Regions from separate parts of the Homo sapiens genome. Here region 1 is linked to region 2. Evidence: promoter capture Hi-C in 16 types of primary human blood cells and fetal thymus (Javierre and others, 2016). All regions are on one chromosome and are shown on one strand. The core of a region is centred on a gene start or on the middle of the fragment in contact, and the rest is flanking DNA. Distances in the headings are between cores, read along the strand shown. Region 1 overlaps NAV2 (neuron navigator 2). Region 2 holds the start of NAV2-AS3 (NAV2 antisense RNA 3).

What was found. Contacts are between HindIII fragments. The CHiCAGO score rates a contact against its expected background, and 5 or more counts as called.
Region 1: a contact is called between a fragment that was not itself captured here and the fragment with the promoter of NAV2-AS3 in region 2, in 1 of 17 cell types (erythroblasts). The highest score is 5.3, in erythroblasts.

Annotation. Positions count from the first base shown.
Region 1 is chr11:20,113,536-20,120,489 of GRCh38, reverse strand. NAV2 (neuron navigator 2) reads right to left here. Exons shown (of 38, transcript NM_145117.5): 37 at 5,695-5,898; 38 at 1-2,357. The coding sequence ends at 2,232. LOC107984418 (a long non-coding RNA gene) reads left to right here. Exons shown (of 3, transcript XR_001748477.2): 3 at 2,718-3,300. Among named protein-coding and RNA genes, the nearest start is that of DBX1, 43 kb to the left of the region's middle. RefSeq lists enhancers at 5,312-5,811, 5,812-6,313. The HindIII fragment of the contact is 813 bases long and covers 4,378-5,190 here.
Region 2 is chr11:19,978,037-19,984,854 of GRCh38, reverse strand. It overlaps NAV2-AS3 (NAV2 antisense RNA 3), which reads left to right and starts at 3,481. Exons shown (of 2, transcript NR_174949.1): 1 at 3,481-3,618; 2 at 5,660-6,156. It overlaps NAV2 (neuron navigator 2), which reads right to left. Exons shown (of 38, transcript NM_145117.5): 11 at 608-730. RefSeq lists a silencer at 5,578-5,872 and an enhancer at 5,175-6,374. The HindIII fragment of the contact is 1,320 bases long and covers 2,958-4,277 here.

The sequences.
Region 1 (6,954 bases), core at 3,535-6,034, 130 kb before region 2:
GTAGGGTCATTGCTGGGAGATAAATTGTCTGAGGAGGGCCACCCTTCAGGTTTACCAGAAATCTTAGGGTTTGGCCCCCCTGGTCACAGGCTAAATATATGGTTTAAAAGTTTTATTAAAAAGAAAAACAGAACAAGACACACTCACACCCAGATGACTAATGAAGGCTAAGCAGAATAGTCTGAGTTTGCTGAGACTAAAGCAGGGATAGTGTTGAAAAGTTTTCCTTTCACTAGTGGGACACATTCCCCTTTTCTTTTCAAAGAGGAAGAACATGGTGTCATCCAATGTGAAGTGAGCAGTTTCGGGTCAAACTCTTATGGTAAGAAACTAAAAAAAGATGCCAAGAGACAAACCTTCAGAAATAGAAGAAATGCAAAAGATGGAATAAAAACCCTGATCATTAAAACAGAGACACCTTCACTGGTGTCCAATAAGGATTCTCTTTACAAAACAGAAACAAACAACTCAAAAATTTACCATACTTTGTAATGAAAATACCAGTATGTTGAAGACACAGCAGACTGGGTTTCTATTAGAACAAGTATCAGCAAGGTCATGTAGACTTGTAGAAACTTTTGCCTTCTCCTGCACCAGACAGATCATTGTCCAGTTGGGTTGTCAGCTGGAGACCGAAAAGAACCTAAAAAATGGATCTTTTTTTTTTTCTTTTTCCCATGGTCACGCATCCACACAAATGAGTCTTTTGGATGAGAAAAGTCACAGCAACTTGAGTTCTCCTAATGAACAGATGACTTTTTAGCCCTGTTTGTTTCAATGGGGAAAACAATGACAAAAAAAACAAACCCCAGGCAGGCACGACACTTATGTAAAATGAACACAGTTAGTACAAAACCAGTAAGGCATCACTTTGGGAAGGTCAGCACCGAAGAGGTCAGGCAAGGCTCGTCCAGACGGGGCTTCTGGGAGGGAGTGACCCTCACCCTTATTGAGCTGCGTCATGTTGGTTCTGAGGAAAGTGCAAGTCTTTTGCAGGGTGACCGCATCACCCCACCGGAAGCTGGGGCGGGGACGCTGGAGGTGTTGGTGTGTGTTCTAAACCCTCAAGGACGAGAAGGGAAGGCAAGGTCCATGGCTCACCCACATGTCGAGGACCAGGTCCTCATCCATTTTAAAGGACACAGATACCCCCAGCCCTAGCAGGAGGAGGCGAGTGTGTAGGACTGTGAGGATGGACAACTAAAAACCAAAACTGAGCAGGACCAAACCAAAACTCAACTCCTGCGGTTCTTACTTTCACCAAAGGATTGATTCTGACCAAGAGGGGAAGGGGGAAAAAAAAATCTTCAAAAATCAATGCATCAGAAAGGAAGAAACTCAACCTCATTTTCAAAAGGTAACCTGTTCTCCAAAGTAGAACAAGTCTCACTATACACAGTGTTTGCAGAAAAAAAAAAAAAAAAACCTGATTCATTCATATATCAGAAGGAAAGAGACACATGCTGTTCTGCACTGACAGCCACATCCACTCGCTCACACTCTCACTCCGTCACTCACTCTCACGGATATTAATCAGAGGCTGATGGACCTGAATGGGGTGGTTTGATTGGAACAGGCAAAATACCTCTCGGGTAAGGAAAGCACCATTTAAAAAACATGAAAGCACGGTTTATTTGCTCCTAAGGTTTCCCTGTGTCGTAGCTCTGTAGTGCGTTGAACGTGACCAAAGCAAGCACCCTGGTTAGCACCAGTTCTCCCTGTGGCCGGCTGTGTGGGAGGGTGGGTGGCACGGCTCTGAGACCCAGTCTGGAGGGTCTGTGCTGAGGGGAAGCCGTGCTTCTCTGTGTTTCCGACTTTGCTCCAGTCTCTTCTGTCTCTGGGAAGCTCATGGCAGGATGCTGTTTGGTTTCAGAGCTTCATGTGGGTTCTCTTTTTTTTTTTCTCTCTGTCTCTCTTTTCATTTCAACGGCGATGATCCTTTCCCGAGAAGTATCTTCAGTGTCTTAGGGAGGTCACAGCAACAAGGCAAAACAATAATTAAAGTACAACAGAAGGTAGTGCAGTTCTCGCTGTGGAAGGAAGCGGTCCGCAGGCAGCTGGCCCGGGATGCCTGCACCCAGGTCGAGGCTGAAGGACGGGGGGTCTCGGTGTTCCCGCAGCTCTAAGGCTGTGGCTGGGGGCTGGCTCAGGAAGTCATCTTCAGGGTGATGTGGGGGATGCAGGTGGAATGCGGTGAGGAGAAGAGGAGGGCGCTGGGCTCCGGGCCCCTGTCACAGAGTGGACTCCAAAGAGGAGTCCAAGATGTCATCGTGATGGCTGTTGCTGTTGGAGTCGCTGTCATAGCTCTGGGGGCTGGAGTAGTTGGCTGCCTCCTGCAGCCTCATCAGCATGTTCATCTAGGGGAAGAGTGGAGAAGCATGAGCTGCTTTCTGTCTAGTTGGCCGCCCACCCTGGACTCCTAAAAGGTCATGCCACCTCCTCCAGACTCACCTGGGATAACAGCCCACAGTGGAGGCAGTGGACAAGAACATGGACTTTGGGCCAGGCTTCTAGGGTTCAAATCCCAGCTTCACCAATTACTAGCTGCATGACTTTGAACACATTACTTAACCTCTTTATACTTGTTTCTTTACTGGTCAAATGTGAATAATAATAGTACCTGCCCTATAATGTTATGGGTGGATTGAGTTAATATACGTAGAGCACTGAAAACAAAATGATGATCTCTATACATAGCTTATTTATTTTTTATTTAGGAGGGGCACACCTTTCAGGCCTAGCCCTCGGCCTGGATGAAGGTGTGGCTGAGCATCCCTGTTCCTGGAACTTGGCATCAGCATCACTGACATCGGAAGCACATGGACCCCCTCCCACTTCAACAAGCATCAAACCCATCTCTTCTCCTTGCTCTGGCCAGGTCAGACTGGAGCCAACTGTGCTGCAGCTCCTGTGGAAGCCTTGGCAGGGAGGTGAGGGGGAGCACCAGTTACAAGCAAAGGCTCCGAGTGCAAAGAGCCTTCGCTTATGATTCAGGAATCTCTGGGCAAGTTACCTAAGGTATCTGAGCCAGCAGTTCGTCATCTGTGGAATGGGGAGAATGGCAACACTTCTCATAGGGTTGAAGTAGGGAATAAAATGATATAATGTGTATTAAACCCTTAGAAAAGGGGCTGGCCTGGCATATAGTAAGCGCTTAATAAATGTCATCTGTTGTCATCATCATCTAACTTAAAAGAGTTTAGCGACAGTGTTCTTGAATCTGCCCTTGTTTACATACTACGGGTCACTTGTTTGGGAGTGGGAGAGGGAATAAAAACTACTTTTATTTATAACTGTAAATTGTGTGTATGTATTTTATATTTCATATAGGAAGTAAGTCAGGAATATGGGGCCTCTCTGAGCTAGGGCCAAGATGTGGTGCAGCTGGGCATACAATCCAGCTGCCCCTCAGGATGCTTTGCAGAGTCTACCCAGATGCGCCAGGCTGCAGAAGCACCATCATCTGGTGTCCATCTGCACAGCCATAACTAGGGAAGAGGCAGAGCTGAAGTATAATGGACAATCCTTGGCAACTGGGATTACTTATTCACTCATTAAACACTCCCAGTGTGTCCACAGTATATGGTTCTGGAACAAAAGCAAGTAAATTCTGTTTTCATGGAAGTCTCAGTCTCATGAGTGAGAAGGATTAATACAGAAGAGAGCTATGATAATAGAGACATATGGCCCTGGGCAGAAAGAGCAGAACTGAGGAGAAATACCAAATATCTAACTCGGTAATGGAAGTGGCTGGACTGGCACAGCTCACTTCTGGGGGCCTGGGGTTGGAAGGAGAAATCTGTTTCTGCATTTCCAAGAATCCTGGGTCTTACCTACACACCTTCTGTGTCCAACCAGTGATACAAATGTTACTGGCTCAGAAAAGATTGTTTAGGGATGGGCTGGCCATTCTTTCCTCTAAATATACTAAATTCTATTTTCTATGTAAGTTAAGACCTCATGAGTTTGCCCCTGCAAAAAATACCTCCGTGACTTTGGCTTTCAGCAATGGTTAACGTTGCAAACGGCTGTTTAAAGTATGCTTCTTTCCTTTGTAAGACTACTGTTATAAATATTGCAAACTAGGTTGTACATGGCAACACAAATAATAAATCCTTAAAAAATACAGTTCCCACTGCAATCTTCAACAGAACCACAGCTACATCCCACCAAACAGTAGGATGGCAGACAACCTGAATCGCCTATTAATATTATTATTATTTTTTTAATCTAGGGACTTAATTAGCTGCTAGGAATAGAACAGTAAATCAGTTGTCTTTTAATCCTGCTACATCTCTTATAATATTTTCTTTCATTAGGTAATGTAAATAATATTCTCTGTTATGTTTTCTTTTTGCTATGCCTGCCAAGAAAGCTTGGGGCTAAATTTAAGGCATGATAATAGTCCTTTAACCATGGGAGGTTTTGGTATATTTGCTTCCTTTTTATTTTACTGGGCTTTTGATTTGTTAGGTCTAATTTAGCAGTGTGACTCTGTGTGGGTCTTATATTGGTAGAGTACTACAATCGATTAGAAATACTACTGTTATTGGCCCGGGTGTTTCTTTTGTTTGTTTGAGACAAGGTTTGGTTCTATCAACCAGGCTGGAGTGCAGTGGCACAATCTTGGCTCACTGCAAACTCTGCCTCCCAGGCTCAAGCCCTCCTCCCACCTCAGCCTCCTGAGTAGCTGGGACTATAGGCATGTGCCACCATGCCCAGTTAATTTTTGTATTTTTTGTAGAGAAGAGGTTTTGTTACGTTGCCCAGGCTGTAACTGCCCACCAAAAGTGCTGGGACTACAGGCATGAGCCACCACACCCAGCCCGGGTGCTTTTTTTTTTTTTTTTTTTTTTTTGAGACGGAGTCTTGCTCTGTTGCCCAGGCTGGAGTGCAGTGGCGCGATCTCGTCTCACTGCAAGCTCCACCTCCCGGGTTCACGCCATTCTCCTGCCTCAGCCTCCCGAGTAGCTGGGACTACAGGTGCCTGCCACCACGCCCAGCTAAATTTTTATATTTTTAGTAGAGACGGTGTTTCACCATGTTAGCCAGGATGGTCTCGATCTCCTGACCTCGATCCACCCGCCTTGGCCTCTCAAAGTGCTGGGATTACAGGTGTGAGCCACCCCAGCCTGGGTGCTTCTTAAAGGGCCTTTATTGTTTTAGCAACAGCCGAATAAATAAGAAGCTTAAACAGTGTGAAAGACTTAGCTCATCTCAATGGCCATGGGACTCATATTCAGGCCTCCTCCCCTCTGTGAGTCCCTCCTGCCCTCAGACCTCTCCCTGTTTACCCTATCATTTGCCTTGGGCTTCTGGTCCTTAGCAATCTCTTCCTCTGCTCTGCTATCGGTAGGAGAGATCAAAGTAATAGGATAGTAGGTAATAGAGGTGGCATCCCAAATCAGAGGGCAAAGTGTTGTATAGAGACAGTAGGTATAAGAACATTTAAGGGGAAAAATCAATTCTTAATCTGTTATCTAATACCAGAAAAAAATTTCAGAGGAGAAGTTTTTAGTGAAAAACTAAAACCATGGAAGAAAATATTGGCAAAAATGGCCCAGTCATTTGGGTCCAGCCTTCCAAAGCAAGGCTGGATTTAGTCACCTTTGTATTTCCAGAGGCTCTGCATCATACCCAACACACAGTAAGTGCTAAAGGAATGCTGAGCTGCTCTGGTGGCTGAGGACTCACCAGCGGGTCACCTTCAGCATCACTGGGGGGCATCTGCTTGCTTGTCGATCCCTCCCGAGGCATGGAGTAGCCGTCGAAGCCGACATCCTCAGGCCGTAACTGCAGCAGGGGAGGCCACTCGTGCTGTTGTGGGCTGGCTGCCCATGGATATGTGTCCATCACCCACTTGGCAGGATCCTCCCAGGGGGCGCGCCTTCCATAGAGCTGAAAACAGGCAAAGAAGGAACAGTCTGGAAGTGGCCCAGATCTCTCTCGTAGCCCCAGTTTTGCAGCTTTCTGAAAAACTCCCCAAATCCAGCATCATGCCTTCCCTGATGGAGTAATTCCACTTCTATTCCATGCTCAGGAAGTCATCCAAGATGCAGACAGTTCGAGGTGCTAAGGCTGAAGGCAGCATGACCCAGTGGTCTAGAATACAGGCTTTGGAGTCAGGCTGATCTAGGTTCATGTCTCAGCTCTGCCACTGACTCACCGTGTGACCCTAAACTCTGAGCCTTGATAATCCAATTTGAAAAACTGGCTTTTGGGGAAAAACAATGACCTGATTTGAAGCATTTGCCAACATCCATGGTACAATCCCACCATGACTGACTTCAAACCACTGACATGATGTCACTGGATGTGGAGTTGGAAAAAGGTGCTATCAGCTTTCAAGAGCCAGCTCTAGTACTCCATTTGGTGCATCTACCCAAAGAATACTGCCTACATACCTTGGGTTCTGGGCACCAACACTGCAGGCAGAGGTCACAATGGCCCTGGCTTAATATTTACTTTGATTTTGTATTGAGACAAGGTTTTGCAATGTTGCTCAGGCTGGAGTATAGTGGCATGATCATGCTCCCTGTGGCCTCAATCTCCCGGGCTCAAGTGATGCTCCTGCCTCAGCCTCCCAAGTAGCTGAGACTACTTGTGTGCCACCATGTCTGGCTAATTTTTAAAACATTTTTTTTTAAGAGATGGGATCTCTCTATATTGCCCAGGCTGGTCTTGAACTTCTGGGCTCAAACAATCCTCGTGCCTTGGTCTCCCAAAGGTCTGGGATTATAGGTGTGAGCCACTGTGCTGGGCTGGTCCTGGCTCAATAAAACCCCGTTTCTTGAAATGGGTCTGACTCTTACAGCCCCTATATAGAAGTGCTACTCCTTTTCAAAACAGCAAATTGCTAACAGAGGTTGCACATAGGCAGTGAAATTATGAGGGCTTCTCTCTTGTCATGTATTTCTCAAAATTCCATAATAGCTAATTGGCTCTTAAAACAGT
Region 2 (6,818 bases), core at 2,232-4,731:
CTAGAACCTGGAGGCCAAATAGTCCTCTTTTATTACCACAGTATTTTCTGAACCTCTTTTCTTCCCTGACAGCAGTGGCAGTGACGCCTGATCAACCTCTATGATGTCAACTACTTAGCATGTGGTGTCTAAACCCATGTCCTTAAGCATTGCCTCCTATTACCATGCAACAGGAGGCTTTTTGGTGAAGGCTGCTCAGCCAAGGCTAGGAGAGATCCCTTCTGCACACAGACCTTCTGTGCCACAAGGTGCAATACCTAGAAAGCTGGCTAATGAGAGAGGAAGTAAAGCACATCCCTAGGGCCTGCTGAACTGACAAAGACACAGTAGCAACAAGCAAAACAATAACCAAAACCACCCAAGCCTGAACTCCCTGTGTTACTGCTGTCAGAAGCACCACCCTACACAGAAGCAGGACTCAAGAACCCTCGGCAGCCCTTTCCTACCTACTGTACCTGCTCCTAACCCCAGGTACAGATTCCAGGCCTCCCCTCCCTCTCTGTGGGTTCAAGTCTCCATTCACTCTCCCAATATCATAACCCTCATTTCTCAGGGCCCCCCTGGGATCACCTCTGCATCTGACCAGCCCCAAGTGCAGCAAGCTTACCTGTCAGCGTCTCCGAGGCCCAGGGAGGTATTTCGTTGCAGGGTCTCCCGTACCACAGCCATCCCATCAGGGAGCCGGTTCAGGCGACGGGTATAGAGGCCAAGTCCACCATCAGTCATGTATCTTTAAAAGGAGAAGAAGATGATGCACATGAATGTCCAAAGCAAGTGGCTTCCAGGCTTGCATTCATATCCAGAAGCCTGTACAGCCGCCAAGTGCTCTAAGGGGGAAGAAACGGAGGATTCCCTGAGGCTCTGGCACTGATCACAGCCCAAGGATAACTCAGCTGCTGATCCAACCTAGAGGATCCCCAGCTCGCTAACAAAAAGGTGAAAAAAGAGAGCGAACTCAGCTTAATTAACCCAAACTCACAGGTACCTACGACGCAGACGGGAACTAGGGAATAAAATTAACTGTCACATGGATTCATGACATTCTTTTCAATGTCAGCGATTATACAAGCAGGTGTTTTACCTGAGTAACGGAAATGGAACTGACAAATCATTAGCAAATCATAGGCAATAATATTACAGAACAGTGAGTGGAAAAAGCAGGCAGGCTTTTGAGAGAGGGGGAAAGAAAGGAGAGAGGATAGATGAGTGGCCTTTGCCATCACAGGCGAGTCCCTTCCCTGGATGGTGAGTTTTTCACCCAGGCTATAGGACTATCACGGCCTGTGACATGTGGGAATATCACAACATGGGCATGAGAATTAGTGAGATAAGGAATATGAAAGTGCACTGAAATTTGTGTAAGGCTATATAAGTGGAAGACATTACGGTTGTCACGATCATGAGGTGAATTTCACCCTTGATACTGATGTTTTCAGGGGGTTGCCACAAAACTCTGAACAACACTAATGCTAGTTTATTCTTTTTTTGGTAATACTACAAAGCTGTCTTCTGATGAAATCAGTGCTGTTCTTGAGAGGGAGGATGTCTGGAACTTTCTGTACAGATGGCTGATTGTCTACCAACCAGACAAGTTCCTGAAAGCTTAGCCACTAGTAGGAGGTAGCTCAGTCCAAGGCAGCTGTACCTCATATCTACCTTGGCTTCCTCACAGCCCCCATAAAGGAGACTGGTTTTGTCATTTCCCTCATCTTCAGAGGAGAACAGGAAGGCAAAGCAAAACTTGGGCAGAGCCAGAAACCAAACTTGGATCCCTTCAATCCCTTATGGGCCCCATCAGATCACCCTGCAAGGTATCTGAAAATGCAAGCATTTTACATTTCAAATCAAGTAATATGTAGTAAGAGGACCAATGAGTCATTATTTTTCTGAAACAGGGTCAGCTGAGCTACGTCATGGAAAGCTTAATTGCACTTGCCATTTTAACTTTTGCATATATGGAGTCGACCCTGAGGGTTCCCAATCCTTGAATTTCTTCTACCTGTAGCTGGGGACCTTTTTAGGATATATTTTTCAAGAACAGAATTATGAGATGCAGACGAGGCTGCCCAGACCAGGAAGTTCAAGTAAGGGGCAGAGAAGAAAATTCTCACTGGAGTTATCTCATGTGAAAAGCACCTTCCAGAATGGGTAAGAGGAACCCAGGAAGCTTCTAAGCTACTGTGGCTAAATTCAACACCTCCAATGTTCCCTGCTCCTCCCTTTATGACATTAATGATCCCCAAGGTCACAATATCAACATAATGAGAAATCTGTTGGAGTAAATCAGACTAAGTGTTTGTGCTTGTGCTGAAAATGCAACAGAAGAGACTGAAGTTTTCACTCAACTTTATCATTTTAAAAACCACTCTGTGAATACATTAAAAACCATCAAATTGTATGCTTTAAAATGGTGAATTTTTAGCCGGGCACGTGGCATGCACCTGTTGTAGTCCCAGCTACTTGGGAGGCTGAGGCAGGAGAATCACTTGAACCCGGGAGGTGGAGGTTGCAGTGAGCCGAGATCGTGCCACTGCTCTCCAGCCTGGGCGACAGAGTGAGATTCCGTCTCAAAAAACAAAACAAAACAAAACAAAAACAAAAACAAAACAAAAAAGAAAACCCCAAAAATAAATAAATAAAATGGTGAATTTCATGATATATGAATTAAATCTCAATAAAAATATAAAAAATGATTACAGCTATAGTTAAATAATTATTTGTTTAATTGCCCTTCAATGCATGTCTCTCACACTAAATAGTAAGCTCTTTGCAGGCAGAGATTCTTATTTTGTTCAAATCTATATCCCATGAGCTTAGTACATACTAGGTGCTTATTAAATGCTGTTTTTGTTGAATGAATGAACACATGAATGAATGAAGCCCAAAGACACAGCCATAGGGCTGTGCAAATTTTTTTTGCAAGAACACTGATTACAGGTTTTCTTTCCTCTTAAGCTTTAACAAACTTACATTTAAGACATATGACAAGCAAATTAAACTGTCGATCTGCCAATCTACCCATCATCCATCCATCCAGCCACCCTCCAACAGATAGAGTGACTCAGGGTAGAGTAATGGGTTATGGGCATCCATCCTACAGGTAGCACAAGGAGGAAAAAACACCTACACCAAAATGCCATAACTTTGCCAGAGGCTGGACTTTCTAGACCCCACGTCCTTTCAAGGAGAACTCAGTGGAAGCTCTTCAAAATACCATCTATTACACCATTAAGCAAGGCAGTTAATTTTGATCTTAGCCAAGTCTGCCCAGCCAGTTAGATAAACAAAATTCTTTCAACTGGGGAGATCTTGTCAAAGGACAAACAAACTAATTTTAGCATTCATTTCCCTGCTGGATTTTTATTGCTGGTGAAACAACACACACGGTTGGGTAATTACACACACACAGGCATGTAGACAAGGCCCACATGTACAGAACCCTGGCTTCCTGCTAAGGCCAGACTGTGGGGCCTGGTGAGCATTCCAGACACAGAATGCTGAGAAACGTTGCAGCCCCAGCCCAGCTACACCCGGGTGCAACGTGGATGTATCAGAAAACGACAACCCCAGAAAAGCGGGAAAGCCTCTGAGAAATGGGACTGAAATGGAACTGAACATGTGAGCTGGGCTTGCTGTTGGGAATTCTGACTTTGTTTTGGCAGAGGGGAGGGGAAAGGCAAAGCTAAATCAGGATCTTCTGCCTTCTCAAACTGTAGGAAGAAATGAAAGTCAGGGAGGTGAATGCAACTAGTCTGACAATGATCTAGTTTCAAGACTGCAAGTCTATTTCACTTATCGTGCGCATGTAGAGGGAGGGCAGGCAGAGTGATAAGGAAAATGGGGAACTTACCTCTTCTTTTAGAGATATGTAAACACATGTTCAACTGTTTTTTAAACAACAATATTCTTTGAAATAAATTCTGTTGTATGTCTCTCCTTGGGAGACGGCACAGCACCAGAGACAGAGCTGTGGTTAGAGCCAGCCTCACACTCAAGAAATTAATTTAAAATGTTTCTAAATTATTATCCACCAATTACAATGATTTACAAACAGCTCTGTATATATTTTTAAATAACTCCTGTATTATACAGTCAATGAAAAATATACAAATTTGGGTTTGCTGGACCAAAATTTGTATAGGAATTGGCTATTGTATACATCAATATAGACTGCCTTAACAAAGTGAAGGCCTTAAGAAAGCATAATTTACAGATGAAGCAGCCACGGGTGTGTTTATCTGAAACACTGGCTTTTGCCCAGAAGTGTTAAAAAAGCTTGTGTTTCTGAAGGTTCAGGGAGCCAGAGGACTGATGGCCTCATCCTCCACTTGAGGAGCTTTTATAAGAGGCTCACACTGGGTGAAGAAGAAATGACTTGTCTGAGGTCACAAGCAAAGGAACCAGCTGATCCAAGAACTCAATCTCAGAACACCCATGCCACACTTTCCTTCTCCTTGGAGAGATAAATAATTAGTGCTGGAGCCTAATGAGGTGCTGGTAACATCCTAATGTCTTCTGAGTGGACTCTTGCCTCAGTTGCTAAGCTACTGAACCATCTCCCCATTACCCTCCCGAGTTCTGCCATGATAGGTGGGTGGAGGCGGCTCTCCGCATCCACCTTCTTAAGCTTCCCCAGAGACCCCTGGATGGAAAGAGTCAGAGCCTCTGCTAAAGGGACAAGGTGTCTGTGGGGTGTTTTTCTTGCTTCCCTGGGGTGGCCCATGAGCATCAGGGTTAAGGAACATGACTGTTGTTAGACCCAAGTTGTTCAAATGCCTTCTCTGCCCCTTGCTGGCTGAAGGACCTAGTATACATCATTGTTAGTAAGCACTAATGGTACTAAATGCTCACTGGGTACTGTGTTAAGTGCTTCACATAAATCATGGCATTCAACCTTCAAAATAATCTTATCAAGTGTTATTGTCATCTCTATTGTTCAGATGAGGAAAACAGAGCTGTGGTTAAGATCCCAGCGCAGGCAGGTGAGTTCAAATCCCAACTGTCGCATTTCAGCGCAATTTCTTCTAGTTTAAGTTCCCTCATAGGATTGTGGCAGGTTAAATGAGACAGTGCATATGTTTAGAAAGCCCAGTGCCTGGCATATAGGGAGCACTTCCTAATCATTAGCTGCTTACAGGAGTGGCAAGACCTAGTTCCTGCTCTGGTGAAGCTCAAAACCTACTAGGGACTAAGACATGCAAATAGCTCTACTGCTACATAAAAGTGGTATAACAGATGAATGCATGACTGGCTTTGAGAACACACGGGAGAAAGCGTCGCAGAGGAGTGCTGTTTAAGTTGGCCCTAAAGGGTGCGGAGGAGTTTGCCAGCCAAAAGAGGATCCATCTAGACACATGGATAACCTATGCAAAAGCAGAGAGAAATGGCAGAGGGGAAGGTATGTTCAGAGAAGGGTAAGTAGTTCACTATTGTTAGAACACTGGGATCACAGCTAGGAACTGGGCTGCATGGGACCTGGGGGATGGTTTTGAACATCTTGGATGCCAGGCCTCTGCCTGTAAGATGGGGGATACATGAAGGTACTAATGAGTAACAGGCTCTGGCTTCTGTTTCAAAGAGAACGTCGACTTTTCGATTCTTCCAACATTCTGTATTCAATTTTTGGTGGGCATTTTCTCATCAGTACTTTCTTCTACAGATTTTTCAGAACACACCATTTCCTAGTCCTGTCTGAGTCATCCCAGACCTCTGGGAGCTGGCCAGACTTGAAGGGTAGTCCTCACCATCCCTCCAGTCAAGACAGACCTGTGAAGGCAACATGCCTTTTACAAAAGGAACTTTCTCTACAGAATAGGTTGGTAACTGACACTAGCTATGAAAAAGCTGTGGAATCTAACAGGACCTGCTAGAACAAATACTCCAGACTTCAAGTCTAACATTTAGTAAACAGATTTCTTCCCTTTCTTTAAATGTAATGATGCAACAATGTGGAACCAAGTGAAACTGGCTTTGTGAGTCACCTTCAGAAGCGGCGAAAGGTGGCTTCTCATTTCCAAAGTTCACAGTTCAACATGGCCTGCATAAGTAATACAAACTGACTGCCACTAATCTCACCAGAAATCACCTCTGTCAAGAACTGTGTGAGGAGAGAGGGGACAGAGAAGGAAAGAAATACGTACCGACTTGCTCTAGTCGAGTGCATTTCTAATAGAGCATGACATAAAAAAAAAAAAAAAAAAAAAACCTCTCAGATGCAAGAAATGAAAGAACAAACAGAAAACAAATCAATCCTACATAATTACTTTTCTTCGAAGACACGTCAGCCTGTCTCTATTTTTTGGACACACTTTTGGTTGAAACGTGGACACAGAAACATGGAATAATTACAAATGTGTGTGTAATATTCCTTGCCAATAACAATATAAATATCTGGACGTATATATCAACACATACTTTGTTGCATTAGATTGAAAAAACTAATGGGGGCTGACGAAAAGCCCTTGTTGTTGAGCAATGTCATCAACATCCAGATCCCCAAACATCATATGCTTTCACAGGCCCCTCTACTCAGTTATAATACAGTGTGACATTCATTCTCTGAGTTTATTAGGATGCAAATCGAGTTTCTGGACAGACCTGGAAAAGAATCCCTTTAGTTTAGGGCCTCTGAGAAGACAGATGAATCAACTTCACTCCGGGTCGTAGGAGGATGCACCGGCCAGCGAGTCTAACAAAGCTGCCTGCATCCTTTTGAAAAAAAAACTGACCTTGCTGGGTGTGGTGGCTCACGCCTGTAGTCCCAGCACTTTGGGAGGCTGAGGTGGGTGGATCACCAGAGGTCAGGAGCTTGAGACCTG